Regions from separate parts of the Homo sapiens genome. Here region 1 is linked to region 2. The links are contacts of gene promoters, found by promoter capture Hi-C in human tissues and cell types (Jung and others, 2019). All regions are on one chromosome and are shown on one strand. Each heading gives the region's core, a stretch centred on a gene start or on the middle of the fragment in contact. The rest is flanking DNA. Distances are from core to core; before and after follow the strand shown. Region 1 overlaps MED12L (mediator complex subunit 12L). Region 2 holds the start of MED12L (mediator complex subunit 12L).

Region 1 (2,700 bases), core at 145-2,644, 310 kb before region 2:
CATGCATAAGAAAGTAAAATGCTAAATCATGATGGGGATTCCCACTTTAGAAGAAGGGAGGGAAATGATGATACAAGGAGACTCATCCACATCTGTAATTTTTTTTAAAAAAATAATCTACAGCATTATGGAAGAATATTATTTAATAAAGCTAGTAAGTGCATTAGTGATTATTACATTTTTTCTATTCTCGTCTCTATGCTTGAAATATGTATACCATTAAAGAGTGAGTGGGAGGGATAGAGAAAATAAACATATTCCAAGGTGATACCATTTCCTTAGGGTGGGAGATCAATTACCGAACAAAGGGTAATTACTCAATTTAAATGGTAATCCAAGAGCATGTTCCCATGAAGTCACAGATTCATTTTTGCCAAGGAGCTAACAGCTCTGGGAGGTTCTGACTCAGTCATCCTTCATTCTTTAAATTACCTATTTCCTTGATTTGGATACACAAATGATGGGACCTGCTCCACGGTGGATAACCTAACCTCTTTACAAGTCGCTACATGTACTGGTCGCTACATATACTAGCTATAACTGGGCACACATTCCTGTCCTCTGAAAGGAAGCTTCCTCTTTTCTGTCCTGAAAAATCCTTATGATTAATGATCTGTATGGAGCCTATAACCAAGTGCATTTTTTAACCAATTTGTCTGAATCAATTCAAGCTAAACATATCTTCTGTCTATCCTTCTTTGGACTCTTGAAAATATGCTGTCTGGAATTATTACAAAGAAAAATAAAATAATTTAATATACTGAAAGAAAAAATCAGGATAAAGCAACACCATAAATCAAGGCATAAAGTTCTTTTCCTGGGTCAAAACTTTAGATTGCTTCTGCAAGCCCCTTCCCTAGATGTCGATATTGTGAGGGGTATGAAAGTTCCTTAAGGCCTGGCGCGGTGGCTCGCGCCTATAATCCCAGCACTATAGGAGGTCGAGACAGGTGGATCACCTGAGGTCAGGAGTTCGAGACCAGCCTGGCCAACATGGTAAAACACTGTCTCTATTACAAATACAAAAATCAGCCAGGCGGGGTGGTGCATGCCTGTAGTCCCAGCTACTCGGGAGGCTGAGGCAGGAGAATCGCTTGAACCCGGGAAGCAGAGGTTGCAATGAGCGGAGATTAGGCCGCTGCACTCCAGCCTGGGCGACAGAGGGAGACCCTGTCTCAAGAAAAAAAAAAAGAAAGAAGGAATTCCTTAAGATTCCTTCTGCAAGCTCCTTCCCTAGATGATCGATAGAGTGAGGGGGATGGTGAGGTGAGCTGAAAAAAAGTTCCTGTTGTCAAAAGAAAAATACCGAGTATAAGAAAGGAATGAGTGGAAAATAATTAAAGCAGCATTTTGCATTATAACCAATATTCTATATTCTGTGATAGTTCTAACAGAATATGTGAAAAATAAAATACAGTGATACTTTTAACACTGAGATTGGAATAAGTCTCTCAAGTATCACAGTATTTAAAGAACAAAAACACACCACTCTAAGAAGCTAAAATGACAATTAGGATGACAAAACAACATTCCTTTTTATGAGTTTGTTCTATTGGTAACCACTAAGCAAATGAGGATTAAACCAATCCTATTAATGGCAATTTATGTAATTATACAAGTAAACCATTTGATATGCTTTTATTTTAAAGCTTAACATATTTAAGAAAATAATATTGTTATGGGAAATGAATTTCTTTTGAAATAACAAACCATAAAAATACTAATAAGCAGCAACGATAAGTATGACAGCTAACACTTTTTGAGCACTTACTATGAGCCATCCACTGTTCTAAGGGCTGTTTTACACATACTTAATCATTAACTTCACAACTACCCTATAAAGTAAGTACAGTATAGTATTAGCTCCAGTTTATAGATGGGACTCTGAGGCACAGAAAGATAGTGTAACCATTGTACTGAGTCCCATCTAAATACAGGATATTGAGTAAGAAATAGAAATAGTTCTTTTTTTTCAGTAGTCGCCACTTCTCTGCGGTTTCACTTCCCACAGTTTCAGTTACCTGCAGAAAACTGCAGTCCGAAAACAGGTGAGTACAGCACAGTAAGGGATTTTGAAAAAGACGACATTTACATGTTTGTTACAGTATAATTGTTCTATTTTACTATTAGTAAGATATTGTTAGTATCTTACTGAGCCTAATTTATAAATTAAACTTTATCATATAGGTACCTATACATAGGAAAAAACATGGTCCATATCAGGTTTGGTCCTCTGTGGTTTCAGCAATCACTGAAGGTCTTACAACATATTCCCTGTGGATAAGCAGGGTGATAGGACTACTGTATTTTCCTAGATGAAGACTGCAACCAAGAAGAATGAAAACAGGTTTCTTGCCAAAACATCTTTCTGCATGTCCATATGCACTAAAGCTATAGGGAAATATACTCAATTATAACAATTATTACATCAAATAATCTCATTAAAATACTTAACAATATCCATGCTATTCAGCACTTGTTGTCTAGGTACTGTGTTAAACACTGTCTTAACACATTCCTGAGGAAATATAAGACAATCCATGACAGAATATTCCATGACTGACTGAAGCTCATGTACAATCTCTGCAGTGGAACTAGAGGGTTATTTTATGGAATTCTAGTTTTCATTGTGTATCACTGAAGGCTGGATGGTTTCTGCATATGCCAACTTCCCCCACTAGACAGAAAGAGGATAAGGGG
Region 2 (2,700 bases), core at 25-2,524:
AAGGCGGCCATGATCTCTCATGTTAACCGGCGAAATGAATGAGAGTTGGAGCTGGAGCAGCCGCCTCTGAGCACCAGGGAGCAGCACTTTGCAGACAGACTCCCTCTCTCCCCCTCCTCGCTCGCTCGCTCGCTGTGGCGCTGCAGGCAGGAGGAATAAAGCAGGTTGGATGCTGCCGCTGCCCGGCAGCAGACACGCACTGATGGGGACAGCCTTCGGCGGGTACTCGGCTGCGCTCGAGCCCCGGGACGCACCGCTCCGGTGGCGGCGGCGGAGGGACTAGAGGTCGGCCAGGGTCCTCCGCGGCGCCTGCCTCCTCTGCTCCCCCCTACCTTGTCTCCAGGGGGAGGAGCAGCTGATGGGAACGTGTGACTTTTTTCACCAATGGACCCAAACCCACCCCAGCTGGGCGCAGGATGGGGGTGGGGGTGGGGCACTGGAAAAAAAAAAAAAAAAACTTTTCTTGGCGCCTAGGCTGGTGGCTGAAGTGCTCGCCCAAGGCGAGGGTGGCCCTCCCCTCCCGGGAAGAAGCTGTGGAGCGGACCGCCCCCGCCTCTCTTCCCCGGCAGGGACCCTTCCCCCGCCGCCACGCGCCCCGCAGACCCCGCCACCTGGACACGGACCGGGCCAGTGCAGGCAGAGGCAGGTCTGGAGGGGGCGCGAGACGCAGGGATGCGGCCGGTGGGAAGCGGCCGGTGCCTCCTAGACGCCCGCCAGGTTCCAGTGGCGCATCCGCAGCTACGGTCCCCTCGGCGGCTCCGGGCAGGCGCCGAGGCGCGCTGCTGGCGGTCGCGGCGGCTGGAGGGGGCCGTGCTCACGGTGGCGTGGGGCCGACTTAACCCTTTACAGTCCCTCCAGGGGCTGGGGAAGGGGGTGAGGAGCGATGGCTGTGAGCGCCGACGGGGGCAGCCAGCCCGCAGGCGTCTCGGGCTCCTCCAGCCCGCCGCCTCCCCACGGCCCCAGCTCCTCTTCCCTTCCGCCCCCAACCCCCAACACTTTACCTGTTGGTCCGCGGCTAGCGGGCTGGGGCTGGCGGCGGCGGGGTCACTCCGGCCGCCGCAGCCTCCATCATTCGGGTTGGGATGGGGGACTTGGATTTGATTTTATTTGTGCGGTATCTGCCTCGCCCGGACGAGCTCCGGGAACGCCGCGAAGTTTGCCACTGTCTGGGGGCGGCGAGCGACGCCGGCTCGCCGCCGGCGTTCTCGCCCCCACGGCCCGGGAGCGCGAGCTTCCGAGTTGGCGGACGGCGGCGCGGCGTCCGCACTGAGCATGCCCAGCTCGGCGGCCGGACCGCGGAGGAGTTGGCTGAGAGCGCGGTGAGCGCGCTCCAATCCGCCTCTCCGGGTTTTCGCAGCCGCAGAGCGCGCAGCCCGCGGGCCCCGGCGCCGAGGCTGGCCCTGGGGTGAACCTGGGCGAGGGAGGGAGCGCCCTCTGGAGCCCTGCTCCAAGCCCCCCGCTGCACCCTCCGCCTCGACCTCCCCAGAGGTCGCGGTCCCCGTGGCCTGGGCCGAAAACCTCACCTGCGCCGGGAGCGTGGAAGGGGCGGGGGGGGTGATCCTCCAGGGCAGACCTTGGTCATCCAACCCGCCCTCGCTCCTCGCTTCGGGGCGCGGGCACCAAGATGCTGGGCCACCTGGCGCGAGCTCTGCGAGACCGGAGCCGCGGAGGCGGGCTCGGCCTGTCCTGAGGGACCCCGCGGGAGGCGTGCCCGGGAGAATGCGCCCGCACTTGGCCAAGAATGATGGCTGCCATTTATGGAGCCTTCGCTACGTGCCAGGATCTTGATAGTCAGAATCTCTGGTCCTTACAACCTTCCACGGTCTTACTGTACCCTTTTTATGGATGGAGAAATTGAGCCAGCTCAGAGAGGACCACTCACTTGCCGAAAGCCACGAAACGAGTCGGAATTTGAACCCACGACTGATTCTAAGTTTCTGACCTGTTTTCCCTGACTTGGACTTGGAGGGACTGGGTTCCTAACCTGTCCTTGCCTGATGGACTCACGTTCTCCACGGCTTGAGGCATTCTCGGCCTTCCCTCTCTGTAAGGTGGTAAAGGCAGATTCTAACCGGAAGCCTTTGATACATAGTAGGTGCTCTGGAAATGCTGGTTGAATCTGAACATCAACTTTGATGTTCGTTGACATTTAAGCAAAGGGGGAAGAAGGAGATAAATAAAGTGAAGGTAATGTGGTAGAGGCTAGTTCCTCACTCCTGATCCTGACCTGTGAGCACCTCCAAACCCAGTTTGAGGCTGAGTCAGGTGTTTAGCTTTTGGCTTCCTTAATCTGAACAATTACTTCTAGAGAGCATTTACCTAACTTCACTGGAGGGCATTTCCTGACCACCTTCCCCATCTTGCCCCAGGGTCTTCTCTTCCACTAATATCCTGGGATTAATTTCATGGCTGGACTTGCCCTTGTGATACAGGCATCTATCAAATGTAGCTCCCTTGTTTGAAAGAAAGGACAGTTTTTTGTTGTTGTTGTTTTCTTTGTTTGGTTGGTTGGTTGTTTTTTGAGACAGAGCCTCGCTCTGTCGCCCAGGCTGGAGTGCAGTGGCGAGATCTCGGCTCACTGCAAGCTCCGCCTCCTGGGTTCACGCCATTCTCCTGCCTCAGCCTCCCGCGTAGCTGGGGCTACAGGCGCCCGCCACCACGCCCGGCTAATTTTTTTTGTATTTCTTTTTTTTAGTAGAG

Evidence for each region. Contacts are between HindIII fragments. The study calls those that stand out against the background at their distance.
Region 1: a contact is called between a fragment that was not itself captured here and the fragment with the promoter of MED12L in region 2, in 1 of the 25 tissues and cell types used here (bladder).

What each region holds. Positions count from the first base shown.
Region 1 is chr3:151,398,322-151,401,021 of GRCh38, reverse strand. All of the region lies in intron 39 of MED12L (mediator complex subunit 12L), which reads right to left. Among named protein-coding and RNA genes, the nearest start is that of P2RY12, 15 kb to the right of the region's middle. The HindIII fragment of the contact is 5,079 bases long and covers 1-2,700 here.
Region 2 is chr3:151,084,238-151,086,937 of GRCh38, reverse strand. It overlaps MED12L (mediator complex subunit 12L), which reads right to left and starts at 1,274. Exons shown (of 45, transcript NM_001393769.1): 1 at 1,002-1,274; 2 at 1-140. The coding sequence starts at 11. RefSeq lists silencers at 522-816, 1,253-1,622. The HindIII fragment of the contact is 7,662 bases long and covers 1-2,700 here.